Linked DNA regions of Homo sapiens: region 1 is linked to region 2. The links are contacts of gene promoters, found by promoter capture Hi-C in human tissues and cell types (Jung and others, 2019). All regions are on one chromosome and are shown on one strand. Each heading gives the region's core, a stretch centred on a gene start or on the middle of the fragment in contact. The rest is flanking DNA. Distances are from core to core; before and after follow the strand shown.

Region 1 (7,704 bases), core at 4,692-7,191, 350 kb after region 2:
GGGGGAAGCAGAGGGGATGTTTGGGCACAAGGCAGGCTCTGGTGTGCCAGTTGGGAGGCCAAAGCCCTGGGGTGTCTGGCACACTGAAGGGCTCAGTGCCTTCCAAACCCAGCTTCCTGGATAGCACTGTGGGCTTCTTTGTGTATCTATGAGAAGCAAGGCCCCAGGCCCCAGATGCCTGGGCCTTGGAGCATAGGTAGAAGGCTGGAGAGACAATTAATGAGAACACAAAACTCAGCCCAGGTCAGGCTCTGGGCCAGCCAGGACCAAGTGTGGCTCTGGGGGCTTGGATGGGCCCCAAGAGGCAGGTGAACCGTCCACTGTTCTGTCCAGGGACCTCAGGCATGGAGCACACAGGGTCGCCGGAGGATGTGCTGGGGCTGGGGGCAAAACTAAACCTACTGCCTGAAGGCAAATCACCCCACTTCTTCTCTCTGAGCCTCAGTTTCCCCACATCCAAGAGGGAAGCCTAGATACTCTTTTTTTTTTTTGATGGAGTCTCACTCTGTCACCCAGGCTGGAGTGCAGTGGCACGATCTCAGCTCACTGCAACCTCCACCTCCTGGGTTCAAGTGATTCTCCTGCCTCAGCCTCCCAAGTAGCTGGGACTACAGGCTCCTGCCACCATGCCCGGCTAATTTTGTATTTTTAATAGAGGCGGGGTTTCACTGTGTTAGCCATGATGGTCTTGATCTCCTGACCTCGTGATTTGCCCGCCTCGGCCTCCCAAAGTGTTGGGATTACAGGCGTGAGCCACTGCACCCGGCCTATCATTTTTATTTTTTATTTTACTTATTTATTTATTTATTTTGAGACGGAGTTTCACTCTGTCGCCCAGGCTGGAGTGCAGTGGTGCAATCTTGGCTCACTGCAAGCTCCGCCTCCCGGGTACACGCCATTCTCCTGCCTCAGCCTCCCGAGTAGCTAGGACTACAGGCGCCCGCCACCACGCCTGGCTAATTTTTTGTATTTTTAGTAGAGACGGGGTTTCACCGTGTTAGGCAGGATGGTCTCGATCTCCTGACCTCGTGATCCGCCTGTTTCGGCCTCCCAAAGTGCTAGGATTACAGGCGTGAGCCACCATGCCTGCCCTCTTGTTTTTATTTTTTTGAGACGGAGTCTTGCTTTGTTGCCCAGGCTGGAGTGCAGTGGCACGGTCTCAGCTCACTGTAACCTCCACCTCCCAGGTTCAAGCGATTCTCCTGCCTCAGCCTCCCAAGTAGATGGGATTACAGGCGCCTGTCACCACACCTGGCTAATTTTTTGTATTTTTTTTTAGTAGAGATGGGGTTTCACCGTATTGGCTAGGCTGCTCTCGAACTCCTGACCTCATGATCCGCCCACCTTGGCCTCCCAAAGTGCTGGGATTACAGGCGTCAGCCACCGCGCCTGGCCAAGACTGGACACTCTCTAACCAATAAAAGGCTCTAGGTCCAAATATCCCCAGAAACTTACATCTCTGAGGGGCTGTCATGGTCAGAACATTGGAATTGAGCTAGCACTTTATATGCAGCATCTCATTAATCCTGATGCTGCCCTTGGAAGTAGTGATAATTACTGTCCCACTTTTCAGATGAGGAACTGAGGCTTATAAGGGTTAAATCACTTACCCAGGAGTCCTCAGCTGGTAAACAGCAGAGCCAGGACTTGAACCAGCGGCTTCGGCTGCTGAGCCCAAAGCACCAGGAGCATCCTGCTGTGCTGAGCCCTGCATGGGCCTCACCCTCGCCTCTCAGCTGGGCCCTGCCTGGGCCTCACCCTCGCCTCTCAGCTGGGCCCTGCCTGGGCCATCACCCTCACCTCTCAGCTGGGCCAGGGGCTTGTCCACAAGGTCAATCAGAGAGTTTAGGGTGAGAAGGGACCTGGAAGACTGGCCACCTAGAGCAGTCCCCAACTCATCACCCTGCGATGGCCTGGCCACATCCCGTCTCAAGAGTTGGTCACCTCTTGTGATGGGAAGCAAGCAGTCTCTTGGGACAGTCATTCCATCTTTGGGCAGCTCCAATGGCTGCAAAGTGCTTCCCCATATAGAGCTGAAACCTGCCTCCCTGGGATTTTCGCCTATCAGCCCTCCTTCCTCCCTTGGCTCCAGAAAGGGCTACTCCCTCTCATACACTTCAGCCCTTCAAATATTTGAAGACACCATCAGTCATGTTCCCCCCATCCCCAGGCCCTTGTTTCCATAGTAATCCTCATAGGAGGAGGTTCCAAGTCTCCCTACCCTCCAGGCTGTGTCCTTTCCTGGTACCCCTTGGTCTCAGTGCCAAGAGCCACCTCTGCTAGGTACCGGAGGCCTCTGGAACAGAATGTTCCCGGGTACCAGGGCAGCCCCGACTCTGCCGGCCGACTCCCTGGCTTGGCTGTGGGCCCCAGATCCCAGGGGGGTGGAGAAGCGAGAAGGAATGACATGCCACCTGGGGTGGCTGGCAGAGATCAGACTGTGGCTACAGGTCTGGGTTGGGGCATCTCTGCCAAATGACTTGATGCCTGACCACTTCAGAGACATCGGGCTTGGCTACCCAAACCACATTTTGGCTCAGCCAGGCCAGGTATTCCGGCTCCTGGGGCTCCTCATTCCTGGAGAGGACCTTTGCCCATCTCTTCTCCCCACTATACTTTTGGTGCCCTCACTTCCCTGGGACCCATTCTCTGGCATGGGGAGAAGCTGCCATGTACCTTGGCAAGTGGGCCTGCCTGGTCACTCTTCCCTCCCAACGCATCCAGAGTTTGTCCAGCTAGGAGCCTGGACCACAAAGTCTGTTCTTCTGAATCCCCTCCCAGAGACAGGGCCTGGCCTGCCTGTTTCCTCCCCACCTCCCCATATCCTGGACGGCCCCTTATTTCCTCAATTCCCCACGGCGTCTCCTGAAAGGGCATGAGGCATCTGGCAGTGGGTGGTGGCAGACGTGGCACAAGCTGACTCACAGCAGAGATGGCATGGGGTGGTCCTCCCAGGGGTGGCAACAAAGGGTGATGGGCAGGCCTTATGTGATAAGAAGGGAAGGAGACCAAGAGAGGAGGAGGACTCGCTAGGAAGGTTGCTGGGTGGCTTGGGTGCAGGGCTGATTCAGCCTGGGGGCAAGCAGGAGGCTGGCCAGTGATTCCCAGGGGGCACCAACACTGATGAATAAGCCTGGAATGTTGGCATCACTGCCTGAAGGGCATTGGCCCCCTCTGTTGTACCTGCCTCACACTGAGCTTGGTGGGCGGCACCCAACTGTACTCTTCCATCTCCACCCACAGTCTGGAGACAGGAGCTTCTTTGGGCCAGGTTGAGGTGCAGGATGGAAGGAGGCTAGCAGGGGTCCTGAGTTCTCTCTCTGCCCACCTCTGCCCTGCTGAATACCCCCGACCCAACCCACAGCCCAGTCTGTGTTAGTGCAGAATCCTTCACAAGAGTGATGTATAGGGGAGGGGCGGAGGGCCGGGGCTCCAGCTGGCCTGACACAGAAGGGCCGGATCAGGGGTGTAACCCCTCCCCTCCCCTACTCCTTGAATCTCCAAGCTCAGACCCAGAGGTGACAACATTGGAGGGTCCCTGGCCTGGGAAGAGGGAGAGGTACAGACCTGTGGCCCTTGACCTTCCCTCCCCACACAGCTGAGCAGGCAGCTTGCTGGAGTACTGAGGCAGCACTACCCCACACTCCTGCCCGCCTTCCAGCACTCCCACATAGGAGGAGGCTGGAGAGGACAGGCCTTGGTGTGGGAAACAGGGCAGGGCCTGGGAGGCCCCCAAGCCCCTGGAGGCAAGCAGGGGGACTGTGTATGTCTACCCAGGTGACTAGAGGGCAACCGAAATCAGGGGCATTGGAACTCAGGGGAGGTTCAGCTCCTAGACCTTCTGCTTGACAGAAGTTGTCACAAATATTCCAAGCAATATCCTCCCACCCAAACATCTTAGTCCTTTCCCAGGAGAGACTGAGACTTGGCTCTCTAAAGGGGAGTCAGCTCTGGCCTCACAGACCAGAGTCTCATTTTTAGAAGGGGGCAAGAGAGAGTCAGGTGTGCATGTGAAGACTTGAATGTGGAGACCTGCTGGGTCCCCTGGTGCAGGATGGGGGCTCCCTGGGGTGCCTCTGCCAGACTCCACCCTGACCCTACGGCCTCCTCCTCCGGTCACTCCCTTGATGACCTTGACCTTGAATTAACCTCAGCTCCTGCGGGATGGTCAAGATGGAAGAAGGAGGAAGGGGGACAGTGGAAAGAAGCCTAGCGAACCCAGGACGCCTCCGGAGCCCAGGCTCCCATCATTTCTGGTCCTCACTGTCCCCTTTCGCCTCTGGAGAACAGGAGCAGGATGGGAACAAAATACCGGGTGAAGGGGGAGGGAGGAGGTCTTGGCCTGAAGTCTGGGAGGTGGCAGGGCGCGCCCTTGGCACAGCCCTTTCTATCCCAACCCCAGGCCCGCTCAGGTTGATCCCGCAGAAACAGAACTTCTCGCGGGCCAGTCGCCAGCACCTAGAACTTGGGAAGGGAGCAGACGGATTAGAGGTCGGGGGAGTGCTGAGTGTGAGCGGCGGCCTCCCCACACCCCTTTCAGCGCCAGGAGTCTGGGCTCCGCCTGCCTTCGCGGGGAGTAATTTATTCATGGTGACTCCCTCAGGAGTAACAATCATCCATAATTAGGGTTAATGATGACATTCATTAATTACGATGACTTCTCTTTTTGCTTCTACCCGCTCCCCCTCCTCTGGTCCCGCTCCCGTGGTGGGGCGCGGGGCTGCCTGTCTTTCTGGTCTGGAGCCACAACCGCAGGCCCCCGTCCTCGCCCGTGACCGACGGCCGGCGCTGCTGCAGGCCCCCTCGCGGACTCCGCAGCTGCGCACCCCCGGCCGCGGCCTCGCGTCCCCGAGCCCAACAGGGCTAGGAGCGGGGAATGCAGGACTGCGGAGGGGCAGGGAGAGACGCCCTGAGACGCGGAGATAAACACCCGGAGACGCCGGGAGAGACGGGGAGAGACGCACACAGAGACACCAAGACACAGACACGCAGGTTGTAGAGACAAATTCAGAGACACGAGCGAGGATAGAGGCGCGGACTGAGCCCGGGACTGGGACCCGGCGGCCGCTGGAGGGTGCGCCTCGCACGCACAGCCGGGCGCGTACCCCGCCCGCACCGCTCCACGCGCGCCCTCCGGCCTCGCTGCGCCCATCTCTCCAACGAAGACCAGTGGCCGCCTCCCCAGAAGGTCGCGATGGCGCGCGCGGGCGTGCGGTGCCGGTGTGATCGGGGGCTCCTTGTGGCCCCTCGTCGCCAACCCACTCCTACCCCCGGGAGCGGCGCGGAGCCTCAGTGGTCACGCGGGCCTCGCGACCGCGACCCTAGGACGCCCGGGCCCACAGGAGGACCCCGCCGGGAAGAGGGCGCCCGGGCCCGGGGCGCGGACAGGCCTTGCGCCCCCCAAGTTACCTTGGTTTCCTGGAGGGCGGAGACGGTCCCTGGGGGGCTGTGGGTGGCCGCGTCATCCGGTTCGTTCTCCTTCTCGCTCATCTCGGTCATGGTTCGGGGAGAGGGGAGGAGAGGGTGCCGAGATCCGACGGCAGGCCCACCGCGGGCAGGCTGCGGGTGGCGGGCGTCTCCGGGACTCTGAAGCCGTTCTCCAGAGGCTGCCCCCAGTTAGCCCCCGGCACGGCAGCCCCCAACCCGCGGGAGCGGGCAGAGAAAGTTGCCGGGGTGGCGGGCGAGGGGAGGCCACCACGCTGAGCCGCAGGAGCGGGACGACCCCGGGCGCGAGGACCGAGGGTCTGCAGAGGATGCTGCTCGCAGCGCGGGGAGGAGGGAAGTGGGGCCGCGGGGATGAGCCGAGGGAGGGAGCCAAGGAGCTGTCCGTGTCCAGCCGGCTCCGCCGTCCGCTGCGCCCGCCCCCCATCCCCTCCCCTCCCCCGCCGGCCCCAGCCCGGCACCCGGCGGCCCCTCCGCCCAGTCCTCGCCGCCCAACTTTGATTTAGGAGGTCGCCTGGTCCCGCCCCCTGCCCTACGCCGCTCCCCCGCGCAGCCCTGCAAATCAGGCTCTCAGCTATTGGCTGCCTCGGTGGCCAGGAGGGCGAACTGGGCGGAGTCTTGGGGGGCTCGACACGATGGGGCGGGGCTTGGCGGGGAAAGAAGCGGAGGAGGGAGTTTCACACTGAAAAACCCGGGATGGAGGGGCGTGACCAGATTGAGGGAAGCTTGGGGAGATCATAGTAGCGTCTGGATGGGTTGCAGGGAATAGAAATAGGTTGGGGCCGCAGCAAGATAGCGGAGAGTGAGATCGAAGCTAGGACTTCCAAAGAGCGAAGATTGATAGATGCCAGAGGTTGGTGAAGGAAGAATGGGGACCCATCTGTGCCATTAATTGGATGCCTTTATACCCTGAAAAGGCTCTCTCCAAATATACACACAACTGGACTATGGTGTATGTGTCAAAGGCCAGGCCGGACAATTCCTCCTTGTGATGGAAAGCCGGATGACTCTATCCCCTTCCAGTCTTGGCGTCTGAACTTCAGCAGAGATGGGGGCTCAGTCCTCACACCCAAAGTCCCCAAACTTCTCTGAGACACGCTCCCCTCCTAAAGATCCTACCACAACTGGAGTTAGATCAGGGGATAATACAGAGAGGTGGGGGAAGAGGTCCTCACCATCACCTTCCAAGGTGCCCCTCTCTCCACAATAACCTTCTATTTTTTATTTTTTTATTTTTTTATTTAGAGACAGGGTTTCACTCTTTCACCCAGGCTGGAGTGCAGTGGTGCGATCATAACTCACTGCAGTCTCAAACTCCTAGGCTCAAGCAATCCTCCCACCTCAGCCTCTCTAGTTGCTGGGACCACAGGCATACGCCACCATGCCTGGCTAATTTTTAAAATTTATTGGTAGAGACAAGTCTTGCTATGTTACACAGGATGATCTCCAACTCCTGGGCTCAAGCGATCTTCTCACTTTGGCCTCCCAACGTATTGGGATTACAGGCGTGAGCCACTGTGCCCGTTCAAGATATTTCCAATATTTCTTCTTCTCCTTCTCTTCTTCTTCTTTTTTTTTTTTTTTTTTTTTTTTTTTTTTTGGAGACAGGATCTTGCTCTATTGGCCAGGCTGTAGTGCAGTGGCTTGATCACACCTCACTGTAGCCTGGACCTCCTGGGCTCAACCCTCCCAAGTAGCTGGGACCACAGGCACATGCCACTGCACCCAGCTAATTTTAAAATTTTTTGTAGAGATGGAGTCTCGCTATGTTGCCCAGGCTAGTCTTAAACTCCTAGGCTCAAGTGACCCTCCTGCCTCAGCCTCCCAAAGTGCTGGGATTACAGGTGTGAACCACCACACCTGACCAAGATACCTCTTCTAATGCATGTTGATTATCTGGGACCCATTTTCTCAGGTCCCCCTCCCTCACCTCCAGCCCTCTTTCCTTCTGCCCCTTCTGGCTCTGACCAGCAGATCTGGCTTCCTCTCTTGGTCTGCCCAAGAAAAGGGAGATGCACTGGTGGCTGAGAGAACCTTTCCCTGGTGTGGGTGGAGAGACTTCTGGGTTTAAGTCTCCCTCCTCCTCTGCTGTGGGTGGTAAGATTGTGGGTGGGGGGTGCCACATGGGGGGCCTGAGGTGCTGAAGGGGGCCCTTATGCTAGCCTGAAAGTTGAGGGGTGGGGTGAACACCTCCACCCCCCACTCACCTCCCCCCATGCACACAGCCATTCATAGGATCTCTGCCCTCCCAAGCACGAGCTC
Region 2 (6,846 bases), core at 1,052-3,551:
TAGAGTGGGTTGCAGGTAGGCAAGGGAAGATCAAGATGACCCTGCCTTGGAGCCTCGGATCCAGGCTGAGAGGCCTCTAACAGGCAGCAGAGGTAGGGTCTGTCTGGTTTCTGTGAACAGGGAAGCCATGGACTTTGCAGGCAGCAGGAAGGGGCAGAGGTGCATGCCTCGAGGTGCAGTTTCCTTGAGTCCTGAGGCCCAGGAATGCTTCGCTGAAATCATCTTGCCTGGGGCCTTTAAAAGAGGGGGGCTCTTGCTCTGGGACAGAGCCCATGGGGCAGGGCAGAGGCAGACGGGGTCACTGTGGGGTCCTCTGGACATATTTCCCTGACAGTGTCCTTCCCCAGACCCCATTGAGACAAGGCAGGAGTTCTTTCATCTTAGGGTCCAGGCTTGGCTCACAGCGGTTGTGGAGGGACTGGCCATTTTCTGCCTCCCCTCCCCACAATTTTCCTACCCCAAAAAGGACACAGTGGAAGGAGCTGGTGGGTTTTCTTGAACCTTGGGGCCTTCCTCCAGAGAGGGTAGGGGAGTCGCCTGAAGCTGCTGGAGGTGCCAAGCATTAGGGGTGGAACGGCCTCCTCTCCTGACCTTCCAGCACTCTGGGAGACAGTGGCTGCAGCTCCACTTGACACTTGTGCTTCATAGTAACTGGTTTCCATGTTTCTGCTCAGAGCCCCCTGCAGGGGGACAGGCGACCACCCTCCTCTGCCCCACCCTTGGGTGTCTGGATGAGAGTGTGGGGCCTGTGAGGGAGGTGGGAAGGAGCTACTGATAGAAATAGGTGCCATCCCCTAGAAGAGGGGCTCTGCTTCCTCCGCGTGGCAGCCTGGAGGGGTCTTTGGAACCACTGGGTCCAGTGTTGGCCCTGTGCCCCCTGCCTGCTCAGTACACCCCACCCTCCTTCTCCAAGGGGCTTGGCTCCGGGTGCAGGCCTGGCCATCTGGAGTAGGGGTCTCTCTCCCTTTGTCTCCCCAACGTCAATCAGGAGGCAGCCTTGGAGGTCCGTGGTCCTAGGACAGTGTGTAGCCCTTCGTGTGTGTGTGTGTGTGTGTGTGTGTGTGTGTGAGAAAGTGGGTCATGGTCTGGATTCTGGAGAATGTTTTTCCTGGCAGGCCCCTGTGGGGGTAGGGGGAGGCAGGGGCCCAGGCAGGGGCCTAGGCAGGGGCCTGTGCAGCTAAGTAGGCAGAGGCCAGCAGACTGGGTGGTGACCAGGCTGGGGCACCCTGCCAATGCCTCCCAGTTACTCGGGGAGGGAGTGGGGCTGTCACTTCAGGGGCCTGTGGGGGCAGGGACCAGCCTGTCTTAGTGTCCCTGGTGGGTTCTGTGTGTTGGGGTATGCACCACTTCAGGGGCCTGTGGGGGCAGGGACCAGTCTGTCTTAGTGTCCCGGTGGGTTCTGTCTATTGGGTTATGCACCAGAAGGAGTCTTTAAGTTGCCTCATAGGAGTTTGGGGGCCCTGGGTCACTGGGATAGGCCCAGGTTGGGGAGGGGGCCAAGCTTAGACCCGCCACTTCTTTGCTTCCAGACTTCCGGCTGGCCGTCCTCCCCAAGAGTGGTTCTCCTAGCATTCTGTTTAATATTCCACCATTAGGTTTTTCCTTTGGGTCTTCTTGATAGGGAACCAGTACCCTATTAGAAGGTGATTTCCCCCTGAAATTACCCTGGGGGTCTCTGGTTGAAGTGGGCCATGGTAGGGAGGTTGAATCCCAGATTCTCAGCCTTCTTTCTGCTATCCCCTCCTCCCAGTGTCTCAGAAGCACCTCTCCCTCCGGGGGTTTGGAGACAACATTTTGAAAAGCATCGCCTTGGGGGAATTCCTTGACAAATGGCCAAGAACCAGCTCTGTGGCTGGGCTCCTTCAAAAGTCCCCCTGGGCCTGCCTCCTGGCCTCCTTCTTTTGGAATGGGGAATGTCTCCCTTGACTACTGGGAAATGGGGCAGGGACAGGCCAGCCAGGTCACTCAGGTGGCCTGGATTATTCTGGGGTCCTGGCAGTGGACCCCTGTTTGGTGGTGATCCAGCACATCATCCTGGGCTTCTGGGGGTGAATTTAGATCCTGTTGTCATGGGTTTGCCTAAGCATCAATACTTCTCAGGGGTTCCACAAAGACCCCTCCAGGCTGCCACGTGGAGCCTGTTAGATCGTTTCTCTTTTTTTTTTTTTTTTTTTTGAGACAGAGTCTTGCTCTGTCACCCAGGCTGGAGTGCAGTGGCACAATCTTGGCTCACTGCAACCTCCACCTCCTGGGTTTAAGTGATTCTTTTGCCTCAGCCTCCCAAGTAGCTGGAATTACAGGCATGCGCCACCATACCCGGCCTATTTATTTATTTATTTATTTATTTATTTATTTTTGAGATTAAGTCTCGCTCTATACCCCAGGCTGGAGTGCAGTGGCATGATCTCAGCTCACCGCAATCTCTGCCTCCTGGGTTCAAGCGATTCTCCTGCCTCAGCCTCCCGAGTAGCTGGGATTACAGGCACGCCGTCACTGCACCCGGCTAATTTTTTTGTATTTTTAGTAGATACGGGGTTTCACCATGTTGGCCAGGCTGGTCTTGAACTCCCAACCTCCAGTAATCCGCCTGCCACAGCCTCCCGAAGTGCTCGGATTATAGGCGTGAGCCACCGCTCCCGGCTAGATCTGTTCTCTTTCTGTCATCACTCTCTTCCCTCCGTCGGCCACCCTGGATGGGCCCTGTGTCCCACATTCTCTTTTTTTTTTTTGAGACGGAGTCTTGCTCTGTCACCCAGACTGGAGTGCAGTGGCCTGGGTTCACGCCATTCTCCTGCCTCAGCCTCCCAAGTAGCTGGGACTACAGGCACCCGCCACCACGCCTGGCTAATTTTTTTGTCTTTTTAGTAGAGATGGGGTTTCACCATGTTAGCCAGGATGGTCTCGATCTCTTGACCTCATGATCCGCCCGCCTCGGCCTCCCAAAGTGCGGGATTACAGGCGTGAGCCACCGTGCCCGGCCGTGTCCCACATTCTCACACGCATGAATGGATTGGAGCTGTGGTTGGCACAGTGAAGCCCCTCTGCACCCCAACACACACAATCTCCAGTGTGAGCCCTGACCCCCTCGGCTAAGGTTCACACCTGCTGTGCCCAGCACCTGACATCTGAGTGCTCAGAGGTGCCAAGTGCTGTGCTGAGGGCTTTGAAGGTGATTTCTCCTCAGTCCTGGACAATCCCAGGAGGGCCAGGTGTTATTACATCCATTGTACACACCAGGAAGTGGGCTCCTCTGAGGTGCAGGGCCCCGCCCAAGGCCATACAGTTAGTGGGGTAGAGCTTTGATGTCCACTATAGGGGTGTCCACCTTCAAGGCTTTGAAGTAGAGCCCTTCAGTGCCTCAGTGGGAGACCCGCTGCCGGGTGCTCTCCTGCCCTCCTCCTGGGGTGGGAGAGGATGAGGGAAGGGTAGAAAGGATGTGTTGTGTTGACAGAGCCTGGGACACCCAGCCCACTCCTCTGGCCAGGCATCCCACAGGAAGTGGGAGGTATCGGAGCTGTAGCACCACCTGGGGCTCATGTGGGGCTGGTGGGTGTGCTGGGCCCTGGTACAGGAGCTAGGAGCACCTGGGTTCTGGGCCTGGGTGTGTGGGGGCTGGGCCTTCCTCTTCTGAGGCCTTGGTGCCACCAGAGGAGCTGCTCCTTCATGTTCAGCGGCTGCTCCCTAGCAACCCAGCGCAGCTTTGCATAAGCAATGAGGCCTCGCCAGCTCTGGGCAGGAGGGGTTCCCTGGGGAGGGTGGAGCTGACTTGGGGGCTGCTGCCACTGCTATAACTGGGCTCTTCCCCCCTGTCCTTCATGCCTGCCTGTCTCTTCCTCCTGGGTTCAAATGGCCCATTGGTGGAGGATGAGGAAGGAGAGAGGGGAGGGGAGTGCCAAAGCCTGTGACCTGAAATGCCCCCAGCTCACCTGGGATGATTCCATGTTCTCCCCACAGCCATGGGCCTAGGACAGTCCCAGCAGCTCCTGAGTGCCCCTTCCTAGGGCCTGAGCCCCTTTTTCAGAAGTCCTGGTATCTGATGTATGTCCTCCTGTCTCCATCCCCAGTTCTGGCATAAAGCATGCTTCCATTGCGAGACCTGCAAGATGACACTGAACATGAAGAACTACAAGGGCTACGAGAAGAAGCCCTACTGCAACGCGTGAGTCCTGTTCTGGGCAGGGGGCTGGGTGGGCACCTTGGCTCCCTCCCCGAGTGAGTTCTTCCTTTCCTTCCAATAACCGCAAGGTGACATTGGCGAACACTTCCATCCCCTACTTGAACATCACAGTTTGTCCTCACAACAGCTGAATGAAGCAAGCACTTTTTATCCCCATTTAAAGTGCTTTTATCCCCCATTTAAAGTGCATTTAAAGTACAGATGAGGAAACTGGGGCTTAGGGAAGGGAAGAGACTCTCAAGGTGGGATGGCTAGGGCAAGACAGGCTCTAACCCAATTTCGGGCAGTAAGGCGAGCACGTTTCTTTCCACTGTCCCCTGCTACAAAAGAGGGGGCTTTCCTCGTGGTCTTTCAAGAATGAGTGACGTGTCTGTTGTATTTGGGGTTGAGGACTTTGTTCTGTTTACCTTCCCTTATTTCTCTCCTCAAAATCGACAGTTTCCTTCTCTCACCTGGGTACTTCTAGGCTTTGGGGGCTCCTTCCTCCAGTGGTTCCTTCAAGAAAACTCTCTGGAAGCCTCATGCCAGCCCTTTTGGTGTTCATTTTTTGAGAATGGGCAGGGGTGCATAAAGGGTGTTGCCTGGGCCAGATAGATCTCTTCCCTGCCTGGTGAGGGAGGCTGTGGAGACTGTTTCTTTTGAGTATAGTCATCTTGAGTATAGTGCAGCTCTGTTCCTTCTGCACTGGGACCTGCAGCAGCTGACGGTAGGGAGGGAGTATAGAGGTGGGGTCCCCCATCCCAGAGCCTGGAGGAATACCTCCCCTCCCATCCCATCCCATCCCATCCCATGCAATCCCAGAAAGTACAGCAATTTTCCATCTTCCAATTGACCTTGTGAGTAGCAAGTACAAACTCAGTGTTGGGGCCTCACAGCCGCCTCCACCTGCGAGGTGGAGGCTTTGGAAGGTCAAGTCACTTATAAGTAATGATGTAATGATAATTTCTTTTTCTTTTAATTTGCTTTTTTTTTTTTTTTTGAGTCAGAGGACTCATCACCCAGGTTGGAGTGCAGTGGCGCGATCTTGGCTCACTGCAACCTCCGCCTCTTGGATTCAAGCGATTCTTGTACCTAAGCCTCCTGAGTAGCTGGGATTACAGATGCATGCTACCATGCCCAGCTAATTTTTGTATTTTTTAGTAGAGACCGGGGTTTCACCGTGTTGGCCAGGCTGGTCTCGAACTCCTGACCTCAAGTGATGCACCGCCTCAGCCTCCCAAAGTGCTGGGATTACAGGTATAAGCCACCTCGCCCAGCCTTAATTCGATTTTTTTTTTAATTTTAACTTTTTTTTTTTTAACTTCAACCAACTCAAGTAATGGTAATTTCAGTGTTCACATGAATTTAGGATCTGACTTGAGTCCAGTTTTTTTTTTTTTTCTCTTAATTCTCAGTCAGGAGGCTCTTTGCAGCTGAAGTTCACCCAGGGAAAAAAAAATTTGGGACTTGTCTAAAAAGGGGGCTTAAACCTCCAGCCTTACCCCTAACCTTACCCCAAACCTTCCTTGCTTCCTTACCCCCTCCCGTTCCCTGGCTAAGACCACTCTTTCATCTTTTTAGGGGCTCGCTCATTCAGCAGACATTTATTGCCTGCCTGCTGCTATAATACATACTAACCTGCACCAGGTGCTGGGAAAACAGATTCCTGATAAAAATCTCAAGCCCAAGAAGCAACATGAAGTTGTCCCTTCTGGAAGAAGGAGGGCACTGGGCAGGTTATCTGGGTAAAGGAAGGGTTGCAGCTCTGTCCTGGCCCCTCCTTCAGCTGCCCCTTCTCTTCTATTAATTTCTACTGTTCCTCTTCCCCCTACCAACCCCTCCCACCCCCACAAGGGAAATGGGACATTCTTCGAATTCTTAAGGGCTCACACAAGCCCTGGTTCTCTGCCACTTCCTCCCTCCATTGGGTAGTGGGGTGGGGTTCAGAGAAGCCAGGGCAGTTAACCCCTCCGTTGCTGGACCACCTCAGGCTAGATTCTGAGCCTCCGCCCCAGCACGCAGAAGTCTGACCGAGCCTTGGAGCCCAGTGACTCAAGCAGCCTAGAATTCAGTGAGCACTGGGAGCTGGAGAAAAATCAGAGGCTTGTCCTTGTTTTCTCTGCGTTTTATCAGCCTCATCCAAAGTTCCAGCTTACTGTTTTTACTGTCTTCTTGGGAAGCTGCCACAAGGTTGGGTGGAGGGCTCCTGCAGGGACTGGGGGAGCCAGAAGAGGCAGATCAAGGTTTCTTCTCTGGGTGATGCTTCCAACTTGCAGAGGCAGAGGTTCCCCTGTCTCCCTCCTGGCCTCCAGCCAAAAGAAGCAGGTTGGCCTCTCCATGTTTCCTCCAGCTTTTGTAGCCCTAGCCTCTGCCATGCCTCATTGACCTTTGGCCCAGTTGGGATGTTTCCTGGGAAGGAGCCTAGTGAGAGAGACCTGGGGGCTTTGTGACCCAGCTGTGTTTCACTTTAGCTGTAGTAGCACCTCCTCGCCCAAGGCAGTCATTCTCCCTCCCCTGCATCCACTGGGCCAAGAAGTTACCCGTGGGGATTCTGGGATGAACCAGGTGTGGCGCCCGCTTGCAAGGAGTGCTCTCTGGACGTGTCTGAGCCTTGGTTTCCCCATGGTTAAAAATTCCTGCCCAGGAGGCCTGGCATAGTGGCTCACGCCTGTAATCCCAGCACTTTGGGA

The links. Contacts are between HindIII fragments. The study calls those that stand out against the background at their distance.
Region 1: a contact is called between the fragment with the promoter of STAC2 here and a fragment that was not itself captured in region 2, in 1 of the 25 tissues and cell types used here (spleen).

Annotation. Positions count from the first base shown.
Region 1 is chr17:39,220,004-39,227,707 of GRCh38, forward strand. It overlaps STAC2 (SH3 and cysteine rich domain 2), which reads right to left and starts at 5,942. Exons shown (of 11, transcript NM_198993.5): 1 at 5,410-5,942. The coding sequence starts at 5,499. RefSeq lists a silencer at 3,368-3,537 and an enhancer at 5,200-5,700. The HindIII fragment of the contact is 22,351 bases long and covers 1-7,704 here.
Region 2 is chr17:38,874,022-38,880,867 of GRCh38, forward strand. It overlaps LASP1 (LIM and SH3 protein 1), which reads left to right. Exons shown (of 7, transcript NM_006148.4): 2 at 4,065-4,159. Among named protein-coding and RNA genes, the nearest start is that of LASP1, 7.4 kb to the left of the region's middle. RefSeq lists a silencer at 3,734-3,813 and an enhancer at 5,905-6,487. The HindIII fragment of the contact is 5,439 bases long and covers 1-5,021 here.